Regions from separate parts of the Homo sapiens genome. Here region 1 is linked to region 2. Evidence: promoter capture Hi-C in human tissues and cell types (Jung and others, 2019). All regions are on one chromosome and are shown on one strand. The core of a region is centred on a gene start or on the middle of the fragment in contact, and the rest is flanking DNA. Distances in the headings are between cores, read along the strand shown. Region 1 has its middle 5.9 kb from the start of IGSF10. Region 2 holds the start of GPR87 (G protein-coupled receptor 87).

Region 1 (6,970 bases), core at 1,823-4,322, 150 kb before region 2:
TGGAACTCAGAATCTGCAACATCCTGCAAGTCCAAGAAAACTTCTTAATTGTCTTTTGGTTGCAGGTCAAGGAAAACTTTGAATAGCTGTTATCCTCTTAGTTGAGAGGGAAATTCCTTCAGCAGCCAAGTCACATCCCAAATGGTGGACTTTTTGCCTTGAAAACTTAAGTTTTTCCACTGAAGCCTTGTGACCTTTGTATGAAAGTTGCTGTAAAAGGTAAACTGAGTCCATTACAGAGCACTCCTTAGTGGGACAGCATATATTCATCTATGTACTGAATGAGAGTAGAATTTTGAGGCAACTGTAGTGTCATTAAGTCTTGATGCAATGCCTGGGAAAAATAGAAAGGGCTTTGGTAAATCCTTGTGGCATTACAGGCCAAGTGTACTGCTGATTTTACCAAGTAAAGGCAAACTAGTATTGACTCTCTTTATAAACTGGAATGCTAAAGAAGGCTGAGCAGAGATCTATTATTGTGAACACTTGGAATCAGTGGGTACATTAGATAATAAAATATTAGAATTTGGGACTACGGGAAATCTTGGTATTACAATTTTATTATTGCCTGTAAATCTTGAACAAATCTTCAACCTCATCCTTTTGGCTTTTTAACTGCTAGGATTGGAGTGTTACAAGGGCTCCTGCATGGGAGTATGAGTCCTTGTTTAATTAAATCTTCTACAATTGGTTAGAGCTCTTGAATTGCTTCAGATTTTAGTGGATATTGGGGTAATTTAGGCAAAGGTTTAGGATGATCTATTTGGACTTTCATAGGTTGCACACTTTTAATTCTTCCTATATCAGTTGGGGAAGAGGCCCATAAACATTCAAGTATTTTTGAGAGATCAGGGGTATTACAGGCCTGAGTTTCTATCTTATCAATTTATTTCTGTAGACAGCATAACAATTCTGCTTCAGGAGAATCAGGAAACTCTGAAGAAGGTTTACATGCCCTTTTAACTTGAAAGTAAATCTCACCCTAACAAGTTTACTGGAGCAGCATCACATAGTACAAAAGTATATTTTTCTGAAAAGGGCCCCAATGTTAATTGGATGGGTTCAGATACAGGAATGTCTTGAACTTGATTTGAAACCCCCACCACAGAATGTAAATTATTTCAGCCATTGTGGAAGACTGTGGCAATTCCTCAAAAACCTAGAAACAGAAATACCATTTGACCCAGTAAACCCATTACTGGGTATATACCCAAAGGAATGTAAATCATTCTATTATAAAGATACATGCATGCATATGTTCATTGCAGCACTATTCACGATAGCAAAGACATGGAATCAACCCAAATGCCCAACAATGATAGAATGAATAAAGAAACTGTGGTAAGTATACACCATGAAATACTATGCAGCTATAAAAAAGAAATGAAATCATATCCTTTGCAGGGACATGGGTGGAGCTGGAAGCCATTATCCTCAGCAAACTAATGCAGGAAGAGAAAACCAAACACCATATGTTCTCATTTATAAGTGGGAGCTGAACAATGAGAACACATGGACACAGGGAGGGGAACAACATACACTGGGGCCTAGGCAGCAGGGCAGGGGGAGGGAGAGCATCAGGATAAATAGCTAATGGGTGCAGGACTTAATACCTAGGTGATGGGTTGATAGGTGCAGCAAACCACCATGACACACATTTACCTATGTAACCTGCACGTCCTGTACATGTATCCTGGAACGTAAAATAAATTTTAAAAATACAAACAACCCTCACAAAAATGACCCTTTTTACTTCTAGGGATTTACTGGCTTATTAAAGTGGGGTTTATGGTAGATAGAATAGCTCCAGTATTCATCGGGACTGTACACGACTCCCCATTTATTTTAACCTGTTTCTCCATGTTCATTTAAAGGTATTACGGGAGCAATTTAGTAGAGAATCCCTGGGAGCCCCGTCAATGCCATTATCAGGAGGGCTAAGGTCTCTTGGGCTCCCTCTAGTGGAGAAACAGTTCAGCCTAAAGGGAGGCTTATTGGCAGACCTCTTACATAAAAGCGGTCAATCCCTTTTCCAATGCCCTGGTTGTTTGCAATAAAGGCAGATATCTTGGGGTAAAGAATTTCTTGTTCTAGGATCTCTCGGTTGTGATTTAAAATGAGAATGAGAAAGGTCCCTTTGGTCGCAGCCCCTGTAGCCATTGTAACTGAAGGGTCAGCTTGTTAGCTTTTTGAGCTTTTTCTTGCTCTAGAGTCCTCTCAAAATGTTCAGCTAAAGCCACCAATTCAGTCATATCTGTAACTTCCCATCCAAGCTTATGTTTTTTAATTAAACTTCTAAGTTCAGGACGGAGTCCATTTATAATAGAGCAGTTAATGCTATTTCAGTCCCTGCAGGAAATACTCCTTGCCGTACTTTAAGCCCAGAATGTTTCACAAACAATGTCTCTAAGCGAGTTCTGTAATCTCAAACTGGTTCATCCTTTTGTTTTTGTTTACAAGATTGTATGACAGACTAATCAACTTTTTGCAGAAAAATATTAGAAATTGAATGTAAAATGTTTTCAGCCATTTTTCTTTCTTTTTTTCTTTTTTCTTTTTTCTTTTTTTTTTTGAGATGGAGTCTCGCTGTCGCCCAGGCTGGAATGCAGTGGCACGATCTCGGCTCACTGCAGGCTCTGACCCCGGGGTTCACGCCATTCTCCTGCCTCAGCCTCCCGAGTAGCTGGGACTACAGGTGCCCGCCACCTCGCCCGGCTAATTTTTTGTATTTTTAGTAGAGACGGGGTTTCACTGCGTTAGCCAGGACGGTCTCGATCTCCTGACCTCGTGATCCACCCACCTCGGCCTCCCAAAGTGCTGGGATTACAGGCGTGAGCCACCGCGCCCGGCTCAGCCATTTTTCTAGCTACTTTTGGTCCTTCTCATGAGGAGCTTTTGGAGGGGTCTTTAATACCCTCCTCAGGTTTGTCCCATTCTGCTACTGCCATCCATTCTTGAGCTTCATCAGGCCCTAATATCATGTGAATAAATTGGTAAAGGTCAGGAAGCCCTGGCTTGTAAGCTCCTATTAGGATTCTAAATTCCTCAGTAAATTTTTGAGATTTTCCCTTGAATAAGGGAAGTCCTTCACAAAACTTTAAGCTCAGTTTTAGACCATGGAGTGAAAGTAGTTATAGCAGACAGGCCTGGCTGATCAGGTCTTACTTTGTAAGGCATCTAACTTCCTCTTTTTCATCATCTTCAGGGTGAAAGGGTAATTTAGCAAAAAGGTTAGTGGACTCAGTATATAGGCAGAAATGGATAAAGAGAAGAAACAGTCGAAGTTAGTTCAGTCAGAGCACAGCCCTCTTTTGTCATGTCCTTGGTCTGGTGCCTAAGCTTTCCATTTGCTTTTTGCAAAGAATCTTTCAAGGAGTTAATTTTTGATTCATTTAGTCTTTTGGAGACCTCTGCATACCAATGAAAGACTATGTCCCACTGTTTCTGTGGGACATAGTCTTTTTCCAATATGCCTCACAAATACACAATTTTTTCCAAATTATAACTTCCTCATTTCGACCATCTTAAGTTCTCTTTAGTGGGGTTAACCCATTTTTCTAAAAATGCACACGTTGAGCCAGGCATAATGGCTCACTACTGTAATCCTAGCCCTTTAGGAGGCCGAGGCGGGTGGATCACCTGAGGTCAGGAGTTCAAGACTAGCCTGACCAACATGGTGAAACCCTGTCTCTACTAAAAATACAAAAATTAGCTGGGCATGGTGGCAGGTGCCTGTAGTCCCAGCTACTCGGGAGGCGAAGGCAGGAGAATCATTTGAACCCAGGAGGTGGAGGCTGCAATGAGCTGAGATTGTGCCATTGCACTCCAGCCTGGGAGACAGAGTGAGACTCTATCTCGAACAAACAAAACAAAACAAAACAAAACAAAAACACGTGCTGGGCCCATAATTTTTATACATAAAATTAGCTGGAGTTCCAGAAGGTGGAGTCCCAGACTCCTTGGACTGAGATAATTCCATTATTAAAAATAAAGTACCTACCCAAGGTCCAAGGCCTCTAATTGAATTCAATCCAGTTAATTATCAAATCCAATTTGATCTTAGACTCGGTGCAGTCTAAGTATTGCTCAAGTAAACTCAGAGACCCCAAAACACAAGTTACTGGAGTTCAGAATCTGAGAGAAAACTCACCCATGACCTCCATTTACAATCAAGAGAACAGTGAGCACAATGGGCTCAGCGGGTACCTCGCCTGGTCACCTGGTATTTCTGGGGGTCGCCAGAGTTTTACTTTGAATCCCACTTCTGATGCCAGATCTGTTAAAACTTCAGACAAATTAAATTTGACAAAGTTTAATTGAACAAGGAAAAAAACGATTCATGAATTGGACATCCTCCAGAAATACCGCAGATTCAGAGAGACTACAGGGATGCCTCGTGGTCAGAAAAAATTTATAGACAAAAAAAGGAAAATGATATACAGAAATCAGAAGTGAGGTACAGAAACAGCTGGATTGGTTACAGGTTGGCATTTGCCTTATTTGAACACAGTTTGACACTCAGCAGTGCATGAGTGGTTGAAGTATGACTGCTAGGATTGGCCAAGACTCAGCAATTGTTACAGGTGCATATTCCTAAGTTAGGTTTTCAATCTTGTCTACCGATTAAATTAGATTACAGTTCATCCACAAGGACTCAAATATAGAAGTACAACGTCCCTCTCAGGCCATATTTAGTTTGCTGTAACAGCACCATTGGTATCCTCTGGATAGTATGACAGATGTCATAAGAAATTAAATCCTCCAAAAGACAGATGATACTGAGCTTCCTGGAGAAATCAGAAAAATGTGCCTCATTTGCCATTTCCCATTTGAGAAAATACAAGCTGCCGTATTCACTAATATGTTATATAGTAAAGTAATAATAATGTCTTTTCATTAAAAAGAAGAAGAAACTAGAAGAGTTCTCAAATCTCTTAGGTGCATCTCCTACCCAGGCTTAAGAAATCATGGTGAGTTCTGCAAACCTCAACCAATGGCTTTTGATACAATACTTATCATAAAAGCAACACAGAGCATTTACAGCGACCAGAGTACAAAACTAAAGTCAGCAGAGCTGCTCTTCAGGCACCTATTTCTAAACTCTTGACAACAACAATGGTCATTCTTGTGCTCCTTCTGCCTTAGTCTTCTCTCAGGTTTGCATCTATATCAGGTTTCTAACTTTTATCTACTTCAGCCCTGGCTTTCCTAGGATCCTTGGATGTCACTAACAAAAATGTGAGATTCATCCATCCTCTCTTTTATTCCCTAAGTAAAATCTTAACTCTTGTTCCTCCAGATCTAAAATCTTTATTTATTCTCACAACCACCACTTTAATTCATTGTCTTAAGGCTGGACTATTATAATTGCCTCCTAGGTAGTTTTTCTATTTCCTATAATCCAGAGTCCATGGACTTATAAGAGGACCATGCATTTGCTTCAAATTTTTCTCCACATCTTCCAAAACTGTACCCATACATGGTGTTCTGAAAGCTCTGAAAGGTTAGAGATCTGGAATACTATATATAAAGTCTTCAAGTCATGTAGTTTGACTTTAGTTGGTTGAGTTGCAACTGTATTGGAAGAAAGATGATACTGATTTTCTTTCTACCTCCTTTTCCTGCATTATGTCTCTTCATGGCACTTATCACTTACCGTGCTAGTCTGTAACTTCAAAAAAGGAAGGGCTAAGATGTCAGTCTACTTCACTGCTATTGGAATCACTCAGTGGAGGTCTTGACTGTTTGGTTAATTGAATAATATGAAAATTGTGGAGCTGGGAGGTGGTAATGATTGTGCCTGATTAAAAGATATGTAACAATTTTGGCATTTGGTTATCTGTTGACACATATATAAGTCAGTTTTAAAATTCATAGCTTGTTCTGATTGTCAGGTGATCTATGACTTGTAACTGCTTGCGCTTGGTTGATTGGTGTTAAATAAATACTCTGATTAGGAGGGTGATGTAAAGGATGGTATGGATGATAAATTAAGGATGAGGAGTAAGAAGTAGTAATTACTAGAAAAGACAGCAAATAATGTCAAAGACCTAGAGATGAGGGGAAATGTAATTCTCAGGGGTGATATAAAAGGTGAAGAAGATGTATATTTATTGTCGTGTTTACTAGAAAAAATACAAAGCCTGAGAATTTACCAACAATACTGTTTAAGAAAAGAGTAACAAAAAGAGGGGGAGGATTTAAAGAAAATCATTAGGTAAAACTATAGTGAGAGGTAATTAAAATGTCAAACCATCCTTAAAGCGTAGGTAAATTACCGTAGTCCAGGAAACACAGGTTTAGGAGTTCAGATTGACAATTAACTCAGAGTCGCTATGCTCAGCTCTGAGATCTTGGCAAATTATACACTCAATTAACTTCTGCAAAATAAAGTTACAATTACAAAATAAAGTCATTATCATTGAATTTCATATATTTCTTATTAAATGAGGCCATGTTCAAAGGTGAAAGTGATTTGTAAACCATATGAATCTATAGAAACATATTGCATTATTAAGCATGGTTAGAAAAAAGAGTGGTGAAACTTTTCTTTGATATGCTGTGGACTCTCCAAATTTTATAAATAGAAGCAGGAAGAAGATAGAAAATATAAGGCTTTTTTTGTATTTTTGTAGAGACGGGGTTTCACCATGTTGACCAGGCTGGTCTCAAATTCCTGACCTCAGGTGATCCTCCCGCCTTGGCCTCCCAAAATGCTGGGATTACAGGTGTGAGCCACTGCGCCCAGCCATGGTGGCATGTGCCTGTAATCCCAGCTACTCAGGAGGCTGAGGCAGGAGAATTGCTTGAACCCAGAAAGTGGAGGTTGTGGTGAGCCGAGATTGCGCCATTGCACTCCAGCCTGGGCAACAAGAGCAAAACTCCGTCTCAGAAAAAAAAAAAAAAAAAAAAAAAAAAAAAAAAAAAAAACCAGAAAATGTAAGGCTTAAAAGCATTGGTTTTACAATTT
Region 2 (7,120 bases), core at 3,391-5,890:
GGTCTTTAAGTCTTTTTTTATTCTATTTAACTGTACAACTGAGTTTCCTAAGTCCAAAAATGCCCAAACTGTGAATGAATGAAGCTTTATCCTGAACACAGTAACCCTACTGAGACGACCTCCCTTCTCTCCCCATATATTCTAACCTCAGCTTTTATAGATTCCCACAATTTCAGATAGTCTGGAATAAAGAAGTCCAAACTTCCTTCTTTACAGGAGAAAAAAACTGTCAAAAAAGATTATAAAAAGCATTTCAAGCAATCATCAGTTTGTCACTAATAGGAAACCAGAAGCTTTCTAAAAGCAACCAAAATTATGGATGTACCTTAACTTCTAAGCTGAGGCATATCATTCCAACTCCACCATGCATCAGACACCCCATTCATTCGCTTGCTCTCCCTTCACCTTCTGACAAAAGACAAAGTGCTCCTGTACCCTTAAATGCCAACCAAGTTCCAAACACTGTGGAACTACACTGTATATATTTATCCTGAATAGATTACCTCATTTAAGCTTTACAACCCTACATGGCAGGCATTGCCATGCTCATTTTCAGAAGAAGATATGCTTTGCCCAAAGTAAAAAAAGCTGCTAAGTGGAGATGTTCCAAATTGGAGTTTACCTGACCCCAATCACTAGTCTTGTCACAGCCGGACACTGCCTCTCGCACAAGCAAGATTTACAAAGCAAGGAGATAGATTAAGTTGCCCAGCATAGGAAGGAGTATCAGTAAAAGGACAACAGTCAGAGATGCAGCCTTATCTCCAGACTCAATCTCCAAACCATCCCCCTTCCCTTTAATCAAATGAAGTTCTCATACCAGAAAAAGGTGTTTCGTGTAAAGCAGACCTGATAGATACAAATAATTTCAAATGACAGATTAAACACAGTAATTCAAGCATAGGGACCCAATGATACCAATCTTGTCAAAGGACTGACTATTAAAGGGCTTATAATAATTATACTCAGCACAAGTTCTCAGCTACTGGATGTGAGCCACAATTAGAAAGACTTGTGTACAGAGATGGAACAGTAAGACTTGGGCAAAGGTTTTACTATAATCCTTGTTGCATGTTCCAGCCACATGGAAAAGACCAACACGGGCATTCAAGAGAGATCACCTTGAGCTATGTTGCAATTAGATCCCTGCTTGTCTTTGTTTTGTAATAACAAGTTAGTGTACTATAAAGGACTATGACGCCCTTTATATGTGCATTTTCCTTAAGAAGAAACAGATACATCTGAGATTAGTGATACAGAAAAATGAGATTATAACACAAATACTATGCCTACCAACACTGGGAGGAAACACTGTCCCCAGGTCCACACCAATGCAGAAAAGCCAAAGAAAGAAGGGAGGAAAAAGTCATATGCCATGGAGAAACCACTAGAAACCAAGGTAAGCCTTGGTAATACATTTGCTCAATGTCTCATATCAAAAACATGAGAAAACAGAATAAAGAGTTCATTTCAGGACTGAGAAAGGCTTATGAGTAATCTTACCTATTTTAATTCCTTCGAAGATGTGACACTTTTTCTCCTTGAGCGCCCCTGTCTCTTTAAGAATATATTTTGAAAAATCAGTAAGATTACGGGAATCCTCATTTGAATTTCTGTGACTAAACCAAATATGTTTGGTTTAGTTTGTTGCCAGTTTGTTGTATTTTGAGTAAAGAGTTATGCTATGCAGATTTTGCCATTTTTCATGATGATTCATAAATAATAAATGAGGTACTGCTCATAATCTGACATTTTACTGTCGTCAGTAAATATGTTGGAGTGGGGAAGAGTATATGTGAAAAACAGTAACAATTTATAAATCTAGATGAAATCTAGTTGAACAATTCTTTCAATTTGTTTGTAGTCTTAATACCTTTAAAAATAATGTTAGAAGGAAAAAAATCACCCTAGTATAAAAACAAAACAAAATTTTTTAAAGTTTTCTGGTGGCCGACACACACACACACACACACACACACACACACACACACGCACACACACACACACACCTGGATGTTCTGTATTTAAAATAAATTTGGGGTTTGTAATGGCTAAACAAAATTAATAAAAGAGTGCCCTGCATTTAACAGGATTTTCCAATGAAGTGGAAAGGAAATTATCGCTATGAAGATTCCCGGGGCTTTTATGAAATGTGAGACTTGCTATAAAAACCAGCAGGAAAAAAATTATGCTGGTTTACCTTTCGATTATGTGAACAATAATAAAGCTATGGGCTGGCTGTTAGCTGCTCTTTGCATCAAAGTGTTACACTTTTTTCATGACTAAACATGTATTACTTCCCTTTTGGAATGTTAGGTAAGACCAGCTTTCACAAGTCCCAACTTGAGACTGGCATAATATACTTTAAGACTAACGCATAAAGGCTGCCTTGCGTTAACTTTTTTGTTACTATACTAAATTTGCGCTGCCAGCCAACGAAACACTGAAACACTCCAAGCCAGCTGTTAGGCTACCGTCCCGGGCACGTTGCTTACAGAGGTATTGGGAAAGGAAAAAGTGCATCCTATCCCAAGCCCACTTCAGGAGAAAAAGGGGGCCACCTACTGTAGTGAAGGGACATCACCTTATTTCCTACTTAACACCATCACACATAAAGTTAAAGATGCTTCATTATACAGGAAAATTTCATAGGCCCCTCACAAGCCCTTCTTCGCACTTAGAAGGGCCTATGATAACCCTTTCACAGTAGGGCCCTCTCTTTTTTTTAAAAGGTCTTTATTCTTATAACAGAAGCCTGTCAAATATCTGTCAGAATAAGCTCCCTACTAAGATTTTATACACATCACTGGAAATTTGGGGTGATAATCCTCAGTACTTGCAGCAAAGTTCTTTGCACAACATACTTTTATGGGGGCCATAAGAGATGCTTCTCCCTTTGACTGATGCCTTTAGTACTTAACAGTTAGTTGTTCTGGCAGTAAAATGTCAAATTATGAGCAGTACCTCATTTATTATTTATGAATCATCATGAAAAAATGGCAAAAAGGTCAACACAAGGACAAATCTCCCAAACTAAAGTCTGCATAGCATAACCCTTCTGCTCAAAATACAACAAACTGGTTTCAAAAAAAAAAAAAGAAGAAAAGAAAAGAAACTGGCTTCAAATGCTAAATCAATGGGGAAGTATAAAATAGCACAGAGAGAGTCAAAACTAAATGAAGGATTGTTTGTAAATCTGCAAATTCTTAAAAGATTAGGCCATTATTAAGTTGGCTAATTGTTATTCAAACACCTTCCCCAGGACTAGCTACTTTTCCGTAACATACTTAATCCACCCAAAGCAGAATGTAAAAAAAAAAAAAATTAAAATTGTAGGTGTCTGTTTTTGTATGGTTAGGAAGCAGATAGGAAAATACAAAAAATATAATTTTGATACCCAACTCTTGATTTTTAAGTTAAACACCCATTTGTTTTTCTGTAAAAACATAAGGAAAATCAACTAGTACGTACACATTATTTCCTTAAGACACAAGTAAACACTAAGTAATACCTATTATAGATTTATTCACTCCAAAAAAGTTTTCACCTTTGATTATTTTCATTTATCTTCATCCACAATAACAGGTTTTGATTCCATTTGATGAAATTTTATTTTTTTAAATGTATTTAAATGTTGCATTCAAGAAAATATCAGAATCTTTGAGATTCTCATCTGAAAGCAAGAAAATTATTTACAAATCAGAAAAAGTGGCCGGGCGCAGTGGCTCACACATGTAATCCCAGCACTTTGGGAGGCTGAGGCGGGCGGATCATGAGGTCAGGAGTTCAGGACCAGCCTGGCCAACATAGAGAAACCCCGTCTCTACTAAAAATACAAAAAATTAGCCGGGTGTAGTCGTGGGCACCTGTAATCCTACCTACTCAGGAGGCTGAGGCAGGAGAATCACTTGAATCCGGGAGGTGGAGGTTGCAGCAAGCTGAGATCATGCCACTGCATACCAGCCCGGGCAACAGTGTGAGACTCCGTCTCACAAAAAAAAAAAAAAAAAAAAAAAAAAAAAAGTGATATGATTATATAAATTTGTCATTGTTGGATGCTTTTTTAAAGCAATAAAATAAATTGTTTTATGTTAAAGGTCAGCATTCAAAGGAGTCAGTGAACCCAGCCCCTGAATAATTTAACATATTTTGAATACTTATCATTGTGTATGTGTAAAAATATGTCTATTGTGTATGTGTAAAAATATGTCTACAGATTTCATTAGTTTCATAAGACTACAAGTTTCCAAAGTTATCAATTACAACAATACTCTTTAAATAATATGTAGAATAATATTTTCAAAGAATTCATCTGTCATAAAGCATATTCTTATTTCTTTTAATCCAAAATTTAATTGGCAGGAAGGCTGCAAATACATGTTTTCTAGATAGCAATAGGAGGCTGGAAAAAAAAAATGACCTAAAAATTGGATCTGATGAGTTAGTAGGCCCCAACCCGAGACTTCATCCCCCACTCCTTAAGCAGACTTCTGGCAGTCTAAGCTCCAGCCCTCTGTGTTTCCTTCAGGTGAATCACCATCTGATTCCTGCAGGTTCAGGAAATACTCTTCCCCAGTCGACAAATCTCACCTACTCTTAGTTATGAGTCATTTACATTAGCAAGAGAGCAAGTTGTTCCAGTAGTCGCCTGGCAGGAGAATTTGAAAGGGTGCCCCAAAGGACAATCTCTAAAGGGGTAAGGGAGATACCTACCTTGTCTGGTAGGGGAGATGTTTCGTTTTCATGCTTTACCAGAAAATCCACTTCCCTGCCGACCTTAGTTTCAAAGCTTATTCTTAATTAGAGACAAGAAACCTGTTTCAACTTGAAGACACCGTATGAGGTGAATGGACAGCCAGCCACCACAATGAAAGGTAAACGAAAAATTTTTCATTTTCTTAAAAGCCGTGGTTGATAAGACACAGCAATGATTAAAAACTGTAATTATACTTCTGCTTAACTCTGAGGTTTGAAGAAAAACTAGAAATTAGAATGCTGACAGTAAGATATGAGGCACCACTGTGAGCCATGAAGCTTCAACTGTTTCCAGCTCAGGCAGGCAGAAATATAAACTACATATTGTGCCTTCAAAAGTAGAAACAATGTTTTGGCAATCACTCCTATTTAGTACATTTTTTTTTAAACCACATTTACTTTATTAGATGAGTAAAAGTCAAAGTCTCTTATAATTGTTTCCCAGGACCCAAAACTTAAAATTTGTTTCATAATCGTTTATCCGTATTGTTTTTTTTTAAAGAGAGAGACAAAGATTTTTCTCTTTCCCAACTGTCTCATTTTGATAAAATAATCTCAGTCTTTTCATTGTACCACAAAGAACAGGGCAATCCTCATTCTGATCCCTGGAGAAGTCATGTTAAAACATGTCAGGAAAGGCACTGAGAAAACTGCCCAGTGACTGACAAACAGGTTAGGAACAGCTTACTGTTGTTCCACATTCAAACTGTTTGGGAAGTTTTCACTGCAATGAGGAAAACAAGAAGCAAGCATGGAGATCTCAGTTCTTTTAAATTTTAATAAGGACTTTTAAAAGATAGATGAGCCTAAAGTAGAGTGACTTTTTGATTTCTTATTTTAAGATTTATCTGCTATGGAATTTTACATCACATTCTCAAGTTGAATCTGCTTTTATTTTAGGTATATTAACATTTTTAACAAGAGATTTCTTTCATAATTGTTCTCCAATTTACTAGCAATATGAACAGCAACAAATCTGGTTCTATATTACTTTATACTGGGGGGAAAAAAGCCAGACACCCTGTTGATATTTATTATTTCTGCCAATTGAGATTAACTGTCTCCATGAAGTTAGGGATCAAAGAGGCATATTCTCTTAATCCTTCAGCAACATCTCATCCTCAGACTCTTGTTTCTGACCTCTACTTGAAATGTGTTGCAGGTATACATGGGTTAAGGACAAGGGCCTAGAAGAGCAGATGGATGGCTGAATTTCATATTTAAGGATACAGCCTATAAAAAGAAAGTATCCCGCCAGAAAATCTTTATTTCATGAAGACACTGAGAAAATGCCCTAACCAGAGATAACATGCTAAGAGGATTTACTGCATTCAGAGATGTGGGTGGGAAAAGGAAGACTAAGTTAAAAGGAATGTTCTTATTTAGAGTTGTGCTGTTTGTGCTCTTCAGAGTCTGCCTGCTTTTCTTCCTTAATATCTTGGCATTTAACTCTCTTTAAGAACCACAACAACAAAATATTTCACGCTTAGCTCTTTACTCTGAGAAAATACCAAGGAAAGTTAAGATAGAGGAGACCACAATGGCCATTAGTTCCTTGTATGCTCCTGAAATAAGAAAAGCCTGGAAAATCCATGAAAATCCCTCAAAGCCCAATAAAGGGTAAGGTTGTGAAGACAGGACAGAAGTGAGGTGAAATCTACGTAAAGTCACCTCCCTAGAAGCATCCCCCAGTCTCCAGGGTAGATGTTCTCTATGCAGGCAAGAGGCAGTAGTTTGGGTTTAAAGTAGAAAGCCCAGGACTCACAGCAAAATGACCTGGGTTTAAGGGCTGATTGTACCAAATATTATCAGTGTGACTTAGGCAAGTCTCTGAATTCCCCAGGAGCTCACTTCCCTTCCTCACAGGTAAAATGAAGGGATTAGATCAGAGGGTCATTAGAGGCCCCTTGCATCTCTAGATTCCCACGATCCAGGTGATATGCTGAGACGCTGGGGTTGGTAATGAAAGAACCCAAGGCTTGGACCAAGCACACAGGAATGCTTGAGAGGAAATGGGGTAGAGCCACAAATGAGGACCTTCCCAATTCTGCCCCTAGCCAGCTACGTGATGTTAATCAAATCTCGACTTCGCTAGGTCTCAGATTCTTCCTCTACAAGATGAAGATGAATGTACTATTTGCTCTTCCTACCTGGCTGAAAGTTTTGCATTAATACAAGTATTAATACAAGTGCCAGCTGCAGTTCTTATACTTGTAACTATCTAAAGCAGGGAGGCAAGAGCAGAAGCAAATGCAAGGTGACCCTGCTGTTAAAAACTAGATGAGATGCACCCACCTCTCAGACCTTCTGCTTCAGGCCAATGGTGAAAGACAGGTTCTTTCTGACCTTACAAATATTACGAAAT

The links. Contacts are between HindIII fragments. The study calls those that stand out against the background at their distance.
Region 1: a contact is called between a fragment that was not itself captured here and the fragment with the promoter of GPR87 in region 2, in 2 of the 25 tissues and cell types used here (H1 embryonic stem cells and adrenal gland).

Annotation. Positions count from the first base shown.
Region 1 is chr3:151,463,484-151,470,453 of GRCh38, reverse strand. It overlaps a transcript of IGSF10 not described here. Among named protein-coding and RNA genes, the nearest start is that of IGSF10, 5.9 kb to the right of the region's middle. The HindIII fragment of the contact is 5,439 bases long and covers 353-5,791 here.
Region 2 is chr3:151,314,340-151,321,459 of GRCh38, reverse strand. It overlaps GPR87 (G protein-coupled receptor 87), which reads left to right and starts at 4,640. Exons shown (of 3, transcript NM_023915.4): 1 at 4,640-4,874. All of the region lies in intron 16 of MED12L (mediator complex subunit 12L), which reads right to left. RefSeq lists an enhancer at 4,055-5,254. The HindIII fragment of the contact is 9,815 bases long and covers 1-7,120 here.